Regions from separate parts of the Homo sapiens genome. Here region 1 is linked to region 2. Evidence: promoter capture Hi-C in 16 types of primary human blood cells and fetal thymus (Javierre and others, 2016). All regions are on one chromosome and are shown on one strand. The core of a region is centred on a gene start or on the middle of the fragment in contact, and the rest is flanking DNA. Distances in the headings are between cores, read along the strand shown.

Region 1 (5,349 bases), core at 1,371-3,870, 1.5 Mb before region 2:
TTTTTTGAGACGGGGTCTTGCTTTGTCGCCCAGGCTGGAGTGCAGTGGCGGGATCTCGGCTCACTATAAGCTCCACCTCCCGGGTTCACGCCATTCTCCTGCTTCAGCCTCCCTAGTAGCTGGGACTACAGGCGCCCGCCACCACGCCCGGCTAATTTTTTTGTCAATATCTGATTTTCTTAGTACTGGGGCCATGTTCAGAATCTTTATTAAGACGAGTTCATAAAAATAAGAAAATTATTTTAACCGGATACATAATTCTGTCCCCCTAGATCATTAAAATATTCACCTTTTCCACTTGTCTAGTATTGAAAAACCAAGTCCCACCAGGTCACAGTCAAGTAGTGTCCAAGCAGGGGTAGGGGCCAGGGAGTCAGCTCACCCTTGCTCTCCTGCCTGCTCCTCAATCCCAGGGATGTTCAGGCCACATCCGCGGGGAATTCCCGGGGGCTCTAGCCACCTCATCTCAGAAGTGCAGTACACTGGAGTGTAGCAATGCCTGCAAGGTTTGCAAGCTCTCCTTACAGGTTTGTTTGGGGCAGGGGGAGTCTAGTGTCTTAAGTCACTAGAAGGTGTGTTTCGTTTTTTCCTTCAAATGTATTTTGTTTACTTATTTGAATTCAAAATCGCCCCTTCCCACAAGTGAAGGGATCCAAACTCTCGGGGAACCAGCAAGAACAGCCTGATGTGCATCCTACAAAATACTCCACTGCGCGGACGGGCTTTTGACTGACAGCCTCTTTACAGGGCGCACAGCTGTGTGGGGAGGACAGCGGAGCCCCTTCACTGTCTGCACTTACGGAAAAAAATGCGAGCGCGCGCGGCCGGGAGTTCCAGCCAGCGAGGGGCAGTGAGATAATGAATGTGAAAAGCCTCCAGGCGGGAGATTGTAATTCGCGCCGGATTCAGTTCACAGACGCGAAAGCCGCAGGATTGGGGTGGGGGCTTCATTTTCAAACAAGGAGACACATTTCCAGTTTAGGCTTTATAGCTAGAGACAGTGTGTGCAATCTTGGTTTTCAACAGTGTCTGTTTTTTTCGTTAAAGGTATCTGAATGTTGAAGTTCGTCGCGTAACAGGCCCCTACTACCTACCCCGCCTTGTCCGTCCCCCCACCCACCCCGGGGCAAGAGGGCTGCTGTGTCCAGACGATGGCGCTCCCGGCCAGTGCAACCCCTCTCCCCTACTGTGGCAAGAAGACTAGTCTGGAACAAGTTTCAAGGTGTTTACTGAGATTTTGAAAGGCTTCTCGACAGGAGCCGTAACTTTTAGTAGCCGGCAGAAATCCATTCCCGTGACCAAGGTTATTGAGGGAACGAGTGTCCGAATCACGCCCCTTTAGTTTTGCCCGAATATTCGAATTTTCCGTGGTCCCCGCGGAGCGAGATCCTGGGCGCACCGCAGGGGAACTGTGACGCACGGGGACAGAGATCCGCGGTGTGGAGGGCGAGGGGGGAGGCCTGAGAGGGATGGGGTCGAAACGAGAACCCCAGAAGGGCATGGGAAAGGAGAAAGACCGAGAGGAATCCTGACTGAGGCAGGGATCGCCGGTCAGCCAGAGGCTTCTTGGTTTAGCCGCGTGACACCTCCGCACCTTTCCCGCGGCTGCGGCGCAGCTCCTTCAGCCTTCCTGACTGCCCCGTGCCGCTCAGTAGAGAATGCCGAGCATCCCGAGAGGGAGAGGCGTCAGAGCCTCTCGTCCTGAGTTTCCTTGAGAAGCGGGGACCCAAGAGAAGAGCTTTATTGCCTGTTTTACTTTTTCCCAAAGCGTCCCTTGGCTTCCGCCGCCTGGCTGCCGGCAGCTGGAAAGGAGACGAGCTCCCGCTCCCGTTCGCCCCCAAACTGAGGACCGAGTGGCCACCAATGCCTTCCCTAGGTCCCAGGGTGCAGACCCGCTCCCCACTTCCAGAGTCGGGCGCAGGGTACATCTCTTTATGGAGAGTGCAAGACCTGGACCGGACTGAGCGGCTACTCGCAGCTGCCGCTAAGGGAGCCAAGAGGCTCCTGGCGAGAAAGGGAGCGGGGTTAAGTTCCCTAGGGATTAGGGACCCAGATTGGGGGTGGGAGCTCCCAGCAGTAGTCCCCTGTTCCCCGCGGGACACAGAAGGCTCTAGACAGGCAAGGGCATGGGGCGTGGGATGGACCTCACAAGGATACTTGCAGAGGCAAGCATCTAGCGTTCAAGGGGCCACCGGCTATCCCCTATACCCTGCTGGGGGCTGTGGACTGGCTTGGTCTAGCACTGGATCCTATGAAAGACTCTGTGCTCCGGCTCTGCAATCTACATCTCTTTGCCAGGTGTTTGCACTGGAGGAGAGAGGGAGAAGAACTTGCTAGAAACGAATGCACAGGGGCTGGTGGAGGGGGTGTGGGGTGGACTCCGAGCTAGTCATGATGCTTGCAAGGTACCTGGGAGATTGAGAGGCAGGGCAGGCTGGCTAGAGAGGAAGTACATACAAGGCAGTCGGAAGCAAGATGACACCTCAATGTGGATTTGTCCAATAAGAGGGGGTAGCCAAGGGGGGGGTATTCAGGGAGGTCTGATTGGTCGGGGGGAGGGATTTGGGGTGGGGCTAGCCGCCTCTTGAGGCTTTAAAAGCTCATCGGAGAGGGGCGGGATGCTGTCATTTGCTCTCTGACTCTCAGAGAGGGAGGCACGCTTTCCTGGAGCTCCTGGTGACAGAACAGGTGTTTGCTGTCTGGACCTGGCTGCTGATCCTGAGCCTGCTGGGAGATCTTAACGATCCCCAGGAGCAACATGGGGCCCACCCTAGCGGTTCCCACCCCCTATGGCTGTATTGGCTGTAAGCTACCCCAGCCAGAATACCCACCGGCTCTAATCATCTTTATGTTCTGCGCGATGGTTATCACCATCGTTGTAGACCTAATCGGCAACTCCATGGTCATTTTGGCTGTGACGAAGAACAAGAAGCTCCGGAATTCTGGTAAGCCACCCCTTCTTCTCCCTACCCAGTGTGCAGAGACTTGCAACCCCTAGGGCGTTAGTTTTTGAGCTCCCCGAATAGAGAATCTATGGACAGTGCCCTCATATTGAACATCCCTGCTCCCAAATTCCCCGCAAGCCTGGGGGTGGTAGTATTCTGTCCCGGCCCTCTAAACGTGGAGGTTCTCAAGGCCGAGAGAGCACAGAGAATTAGCTTTGGGCATCCAAGTACAAAGCGTTCCCGTGGTGCGCGGCAGCCCGAGGATCCCTGTCCCGTCGGGGCCTGATGCGGAGGGAGCCGGCACCCGAGCGGGAGAGTCAGGCGATTCGCCCGGGGACAGCAAGCCGAGCCGGACGCCGCAAGGGCGGCCGCGCTGAGGCAGCGCGGACCGAACTGACGCGGAGGGAGCAGCGGGGCTGCGACCTGCTCTGTGAAAGTTAAGTTCGCGGCGGCCGCGGCGGCCCTTACCAGAGCGCAACGCAGTGGCCTCTCCCTAGCCGGGCCAAGAGCCCGCTCGCCGCGGCCCTGGGGCTCCAGGACGGCTCCCGGGCAGATCCCGGGCGGCGGAGCACAGACCCCCGCGCCCGAGAATCGAGCAGGGAGGTCTGAGCCCGCCGGAGCCGAGCTCCGTCCGCCCGTCCCAGGGCGAACGGCAGAGAGAGGCAAGCGGCGGGTCGGGCACAGCAGGCGGTGGCAGCGACGGCGGCGGCAGCGGAGATCCCAAGGTCCGTAAGCGGGGAACTGGGGGGTCGCAGGGCGGGCCGGCCAAGAGGCTTGGGAGCTGGGCGTTGCTGGGGGTGGAGGGATAGAAGGCAGCAAAACCGAGTAGGGATTGGCGGGAGGGCGACGGGAGAGCTCAGAGGCGGCGATGGGGGACTCAGAGAGGCTGCAAAGGGCTGGGGTCTGGGAGCCGCAGGCGGGACTTCCCCCGCTGCTAGCCACTGCCGAGCGGGAGGAGGCCGGGGGCCGGGGGCCGGCGGCGAGCAGGGCAGGAGGGAAGCGTGGGAGGATGCCGGGCGCTGCGACCTGTGCTGGGGGTGGGGGCGGCAGACACTGCAGAGCAGCTAGTCCGGCTTACAGGTTGGGCGGGAGAGGGCTCTGGAAGGGAGGGGAAGGGGCAAAGGCGCCCAAACTCCGAGTTCAGGCCGGGGGAGGGAGGGGCGGCGCCTGGAATTTCCACCGCCAGATTCTCGATCGGCTGGGGCTAGGAGTGGGGACCGAAGGGGGTCTGAGAGGGTGGGGAGACCAGCTGGATTCTCCCGGGCAGGGCGTGGGGGAGAGGTGGCGGCCGGGGTCTGGGGGATTACTTTGCTTGGGCAAGGAGTCACGAACACTGAACAAGTTTAAAAACGCACTGACTGGCACACAGTCATTAAAAGTTTTCTTACAAAGTCTGGTGGGTGTCTCCGATTTCTCCTTCGTCTCCTGGAATCGTGGGGCCATACACTAGGTCTTCACCTTCACCCCCGCGGTGCGGTCCCGAGGTGCAAACCCACGGAATCCTGGGGGCGACCTGCGAAGCCCATTTTATTCCCTTTAGATTTCTTTTCTTTCTTTTTCTCCTTCTCCTTCCTTCCTTCTATAATTCAAATAAAGGCTTTTATGGTTGTTGTGGTTTTGTTTTTAAGGCTTTGCCCCTTCTCTTTTCGGCTGTATTTCCCTGAATTCATTACTCTGCCGGAAAACCATAGAAAGAACCTCTTCGGTAGAAAGTGCTGAGGCCGAGTGCTGACAGCGCTGGAGGAAGGAGGAAGAAGGAGCCATACCTTTGCCCTTTTCAAAAGCGCTCATTTTCTCCTAGTCCAAGATGAAGTGCAATATTTTGCCAAACCAATGCTAATTAGCAACGAGGTGTCTCCAAAGAAAGAGGGCTCTGCGCCTGCACCTGGCCTCTTCCTTCTCTTTTTTGTGAAAGGTTTTACAAAAAAGTTCCCACCTCAGCCCTACAAGACCGGAGTGGGGGTGACCCTTCTTCTCTATCCTGTTTAACCTGAAGGCTCCAGTAAAGTTCAGTGCCCGGCGCTGGGAGCTCTGTGCAGGGCGCTGAATGTGCCAGTGCGCGGCTCTGCGCGTGGACGTGGACGCGGCATGTAACTGAAACAGGCACTTCTGCTAATCCTTGCAGGATTTTTTCTCCTCCCCCCCACCCCCGCCCACCTCGCGCCACCCTTCCCGCCCGCCCTCTCACTACTTCTTTGGTCTCAGACTAAATTTTACAGGGCTTCCCTGCTTCCCCTCAGTTTTCACTCTTAGGTTACCTCGGAACGGTAAGTATTTGACTTGGCAAGGTTTTAGGTTACTGCTTGATCCCATCGGAAAAGACTGTTTAAGAAGATGGCCTCTAATGCCTTTTCTCAGAATCTTCTCTCTAGTAATGTGTTTATTATAAATGCAATGCTAGGCT
Region 2 (5,420 bases), core at 2,611-5,110:
AAATGAGTAAAAGCATTCTAAAGTCCAGGGTCTAACTTCCATCCCCTAGTCTCAGTCTCTCCTGTTCTTGCTCTAGGTCAGGAACTCATTATTTTTAATTGGACCAGTAATATAGCCTTCTTTGCTTCTGGCTTTCTTTACTTTCACTACAACGTGTCTAGGAGTAGATTTCTTTTAATTTATCTTGCCTATGACTTATTGGGCTTTTTGAATCTGTGAATTCAAATTTACAGCCGTCATCTTCAACTGGGACTTCAATTAAATATATGGCAGACCTTCTCACTCTACTAATTGAGTCTCTCATCCTCCCTTTTTTATTTTTCCAAATAATTTGTTTCTCCAGACAGAACTCTGGGCAATTTCTTATAACCTATCTTCCAATTCAATAATTCTCTTTTTAGTTGTGTTTAGCCTTCTCTTAAACCCATCCATTAAATTCTCAAGTTTCATTGTTATAGTCTTTAGTATAACTACACTAGTTATAGTTTAGTTTTTCACCTTGATTTTTTTCAAAATAGCTCTATTAGTCTTTATGATTTTCTGTTCCTTACAGATATTTTCAAACTTATTTTTAATTTTTTGGAATAAAGTGAACCATAGTTATTGTAGTCTTTGTCACGTAACTCTGATACGTGAAGTCTTTGAGAGTTTGTTTTTGTTGTCTACTGGCTGTCATGGTCTATGTGTTTCCTTTTATGCCAAGTTATCTTTGACTATACGCTGACATATTTTTGAAAAATTATTGTACAAATGATTCTAGGCCCAATATGATAATACCTTCCAGCAGAGTCTTTTCATTTGCTGGGGTATTTTCAAATGCCTGAGGATACTACTTGTCCAAGGCCACTTTAATCCAAGATCAGGGCTTTAGGTTCCTTGGACTGCCCATATGATGAGTATCTAGGTTTACAAGACCACACAAGGGCTGGTTACTTATAGGTCACCATTAACCCAAAGGGGTAGCCACTCAGGGTCTCAGCTGAGAGTGACAAGAATGCTAATCAAATCCGCTACTTCCTTGGGCCTTGAGCTTTCACTTTTTTCCTTATGATGCCACCAAAACTGCAGCTCAATTTCATAACTCTCTTCCAGATTCAGTAGAAGCCATCAGGACAAAAGAGGATTCTAGTGCTGGGCTTTCCCCCCTGGGTTCTTGTCTTCTTCCGGATTTTAGCCTCAGTATCTCTCAGTTCTTTATGACAATTATTTCTTTCTACATTCAGCCAGTTTGTTTCATTGTCCTCACTGGAACAGCTAGTCCAAGTTACCTAGCTGGCCATTACCAGAAGGAGATGTGTGCTCTTCTTGCCCCCAGTCCCTCTCCCTCCCAGTTTTTCCTTCAGTGCGAAGGTGCCACTCTGATTGTATCATTCCCTTGCACAAATCCTTCAGAAGATTACTGTTGACTCTAAAATAAAATACAATTTTTTATTTTAGAAAATTAGGACCCAGATTCTTTCTCTTGCCTCATTCATTACACAAGAATTTATTGTACACTGAGTGTGTGTTGCTTACAAAGTCAGGTTCTGCCTAATCTCTCACCTCTTACCTATCTCACCTGTTGTCTTACCTCCAAACTTACTCTACCCTTTAGCCAAACTGGAATATTCACTGTCGTGTGCAGAGCTGGGTCAGAACACAGATGGGCTAACTTCCAGATGAGTGTTCTTTGTCCTACACCATTATCCCATATTCAGGTTTAAGCTTATTCAATCTAGATCTTTATGGATATTATAATAAATTAACTAGGCAAACGCTCAATAAGTACAAATTATAATGGCATTTTTGTATTTCTTGTATTTTGGCTATCCTTTTCTTGTGAGTCAGAAATTTCAATGAAGCATTACCTCTAGGGAGACCCGAAGTAGGGGAGGGCCTTCTGGGATGTAAGTTCTGGAAGAGAATTCATCGTTGCCGTCAACTTTTTGTCAATCTTCATAGTCACAAGGGTACCTAAGAACAAAATTTCAGGCTTCAGGCTTGTTTCCCCTAACAAATGAGCGACCAGACCAATTGCCTGTGGAATTTGATTCCTCAGTGCTGGGAACATCCCACATTCAAACAAATCTGCTCCCACCTGCTGGTGGTTGCTAGAACTTCCAGTCAAAGCTGACTTAGACTGAAAACGCACTCTTCTCGAAGTAAGCAGACCTGGAAATGTGGTTTTTAGTTTTGGCCTCTGCTACTGTGTGACCTTGGGCCAATCCCTTTTTCTTCTCTGGGCTTCAGTTTCCCTACATTACAACCGAGGTGGCTGGACAAAATGCCCCGGAATGGCTCTAACATTTTTGGCAAACAAGGATTTTCTCTACAAGGACGTCTGTGTGACCAGAGGTGATGGGACAGGACTGGTAGCAGTAGAGGTGGGTTTAATCTGCTCTCATATGTGATCCTGACAAATGGGTCCCATCATCCTTTTTTCTTACTGCAATGGCCAGGGAAAGAGGGGAGATGGGAAAGAAAGGTGTGAGGGTGTTCTGCTCATTAAAAGAAGGCAGGAAACTATGAGAGACATTTTTCATAAAAGTATGGTTCTAAAATGATTTTAAAGGGGGAGTGGTAAAAGAGTTAAACCCTCAGCTGTGCAAAACTGCTTGGCCTACCAGGTAAGTCATGCTTTGCTGGGCACCAGCAATCTCAACTCATTTCATCAAATACTGAGGGGAAAAAAAGGGGGAGATGTTGTGTTTCTCAGTGAATGTTCTAGGTAACCAAAAGTAAACCTGAAATCCGTTTTGATTTCAACTCTTCTCAATGGTGTGATGTGGGAGGTGGCATGCCGGTGAACATGGCAGCTCTGTTTGTTGATTACCCATTTGCCCTATGGGCTCTGGTGAGGCCACTTTCTAAGCTTTCTGAACTTGCTTTGTCATGGGATAGGAAGGACATAGGAAATTGGGTGGAGGCATTTCTTATCCTCCACGATTTTTCTGTCCCATAGGGGCAGAGTCTGAGGTAGTGGAAAGAATAAGAGCCCTCTAGTCAAGATGTCAGGCTTTTCCATATGATGGGGTCAGAACCCAGGAACATTGGCATACCCTGGTCTCCAGTGCCTAACTCCCTTGAACACCCCAAACACTGACCTTGGCCTTTTTTTCCCCTTCTATGGTGTCAGCCATGAACCTTCATTCTGCATCCCCTGGCTGATGAGACACAACCACATCTCAGAGAGACCCCAGTTGGTGAGCCCTTCCAGTTCCTTGAGTCTTTTTCCTGAGTACCCAAAGTTGGGGTGAAGAGCACTCTAGGAAATTTAAGTCTTAAGCAACTCTTGGGCTCCTGTAGCCCAATGTCCATCCTGAGGGAGGAGCAGTCCTGCTGTGGCCAGAGCCCTGTAACAAAACCCATTAGGATCCTCCTTGACCTTATCCAGAGACAAGGCACGCGGGGTTACTGGAGGCTCAAGGGTACGGAGTCACCAGCCGTTGGGTACCTCCTGACGCCCAAAATTGTCCAAGTCTTTCAGAATGCAGATTCAGCCATGGCGGTCAAATTACCACACTCCCTTCACCATCAAATACAACTCTCGGGCACAGGCCCTTTCTTCCAAGAAAAACACACATTTCGCATTTTGCAGAGAAGAGACAGGACCCAGTGCCCCTTGAGGCGGATTCCTGGCCCAGCCCCCAAGGAGCCAGCCCTCCTCCCCCTCCCCCAGCCCGGCCCCGCCCTGCCTGTGTCTGGAGATGGCCGGGGGATGACTGCAGAAGCCTGAAGGGGCGGGGGCCGGGCGGCGCGCAGGCTACGGGCGGAGGCAGGAGCGCGCGCCTTTTTGTGCGGCTCCTGGCAGCTGTCCGATTGGCTGGGCCTGCGATGCCGTCGGAGTGGGCGGAGCCAGCAGCGAGCTGGGATCTGTGCCCAGTCGCAGCCAGGAGCGGCCGCAGACGGAGCGCACCTCGCAGCTGCCGGGCGGGCCCTGGGGGGAGCTGCGTCCAGCAGAGCTGCTGGGTGGTTGCTCCTCCCGGGCTCTCATCTCCGGTATCCGGGCCGACCCCCGCACCCCCTACTTCCCTTGCCCTCGCTGCTCTCTCCTTAGAGGCGACTCTTTGGGGAAGGGCCAGCAATCCCGCCTTCCCCGGCCCCAGTAGTCACCCACTCTCCCACCCCACCTCTGTTCCTTTTCGCGGCCCCGTCTCCCGCGCCCTCAGGCGCCCAGAACGCCCCGGCCATGGGCATCCGAGGCATGCTGCGAGCCGCAGTGATCCTGCTGCTCATCAGGACCTGGCTCGCGGAGGGCAACTACCCCAGTCCCATCCCGAAATTCCACTTCGAGTTCTCCTCTGCTGTGCCCGAAGTCGTCCTGAACCTCTTCAACTGGTAAGCGGGCACCGCCAGGCTAGGCACGGCGGGGACGGGAATGGAGACGGGCAGACGACCTCTGGCCTCTTGGACGGAGCGGGCTGGGGGCGACTCGGGCTGGGGGGTACTCGGACCCGGGCTCGCTGAGCCCTGGCGCCCGGGCCCTGCCTGTTGGCCCCTAGAAGGGGTAAGGTGGGAGTGGGGTGTTGAAATGGAGCCCTGTGCTTCCGCCCACCTGTTACTGCGGAGCTTGACTGAGCCCTGCGTGTGCCTAAACCGCAGCCCGAGGGGTGGGGGCGGGGGTCGCCCTCGTCCCAGGATCTGTCCATCCATCCCCAAGGATTTAAGGTTCCCGGCAGCTTTCCCCAGCTTTGGCACCTGTGGGATTGGGGAGGAGGGTACAGGATGACGGGCAATTCACAAAACATAGACAGGAGAGACACCTGTTTGAGTCTACATTTTAGTCCATTTCCTGAGGCGCGCGCGCGTGCATGCATGTGTTGAGGGGATGAGGGACTCTTTCCAATGCGGCAGATAGAAATGATTAACTCAAACCCATCGGAGCCCAGACAGTGCGATCGTGTCTGAATAAACACGAACCGTGTGGTCTGGGATGGGTGTGCTTTTGTACTTAGTCGTGTGAAAATATTTGAAGACTCCGGTTTTTTTCTCTTTTTGATTTTAAGTTTGTTTGGGTGTGCGAGTATCTGAAGCCTTTACATGTAAATCACACAGAAATGTGTATTTGGGGTGGCCACAGATCCTGAGCGTTGGCACATGGGTAATGTGTGCTTGGAAACAGGTGGGAATGCATTGCTTTAATTTGGGAATAATTCATGTGCACATTTTGGGATGCTGCAAAATGAAATTTTTGATTAAAGATGATTAGGAATAATTTTTAACAATGTTTAAATGGCAAGCCAGAAATTAACATGTACTCATAAAGGGGGGGGGGGTGTTTGGCAAGGTTCCAGCAGACAGCCCTGCAGTGCCCTTAACCCAACATACCATACTGCGCCACTGAACATGCACACATGCGCGTGCGCACACACACACACACACACACACACAAACACACACATTTGCAGGGGCTGACGTTCCCTGGGCAATGCGTCAAAGAT

The links. The method cuts DNA at HindIII sites, captures the fragments that hold promoters and counts their contacts. A CHiCAGO score of 5 or more calls a contact.
Region 1: a contact is called between the fragment with the promoter of GPR50 here and the fragment with the promoter of GABRQ in region 2, in 2 of 17 cell types (M2 macrophages and non-activated CD4 T cells). The highest score is 7.1, in M2 macrophages.

What each region holds. Positions count from the first base shown.
Region 1 is chrX:151,173,964-151,179,312 of GRCh38, forward strand. GPR50 (G protein-coupled receptor 50) reads left to right here and starts at 2,621. Exons shown (of 2, transcript NM_004224.3): 1 at 2,621-2,945. The coding sequence starts at 2,759. GPR50-AS1 (GPR50 antisense RNA 1) reads right to left here and starts at 3,873. Exons shown (of 3, transcript NR_135300.1): 1 at 3,414-3,873; 2 at 2,832-2,912; 3 at 1,235-2,307. RefSeq lists enhancers at 316-1,285, 1,286-2,254. The HindIII fragment of the contact is 16,411 bases long and covers 1-5,349 here.
Region 2 is chrX:152,634,035-152,639,454 of GRCh38, forward strand. GABRQ (gamma-aminobutyric acid type A receptor subunit theta) reads left to right here and starts at 3,861. Exons shown (of 9, transcript NM_018558.4): 1 at 3,861-4,317. The coding sequence starts at 4,169. It overlaps MAGEA3-DT (MAGEA3 divergent transcript), which reads right to left. Exons shown (of 5, transcript XR_938525.3): 4 at 1,848-1,953. The HindIII fragment of the contact is 4,664 bases long and covers 2,850-5,420 here.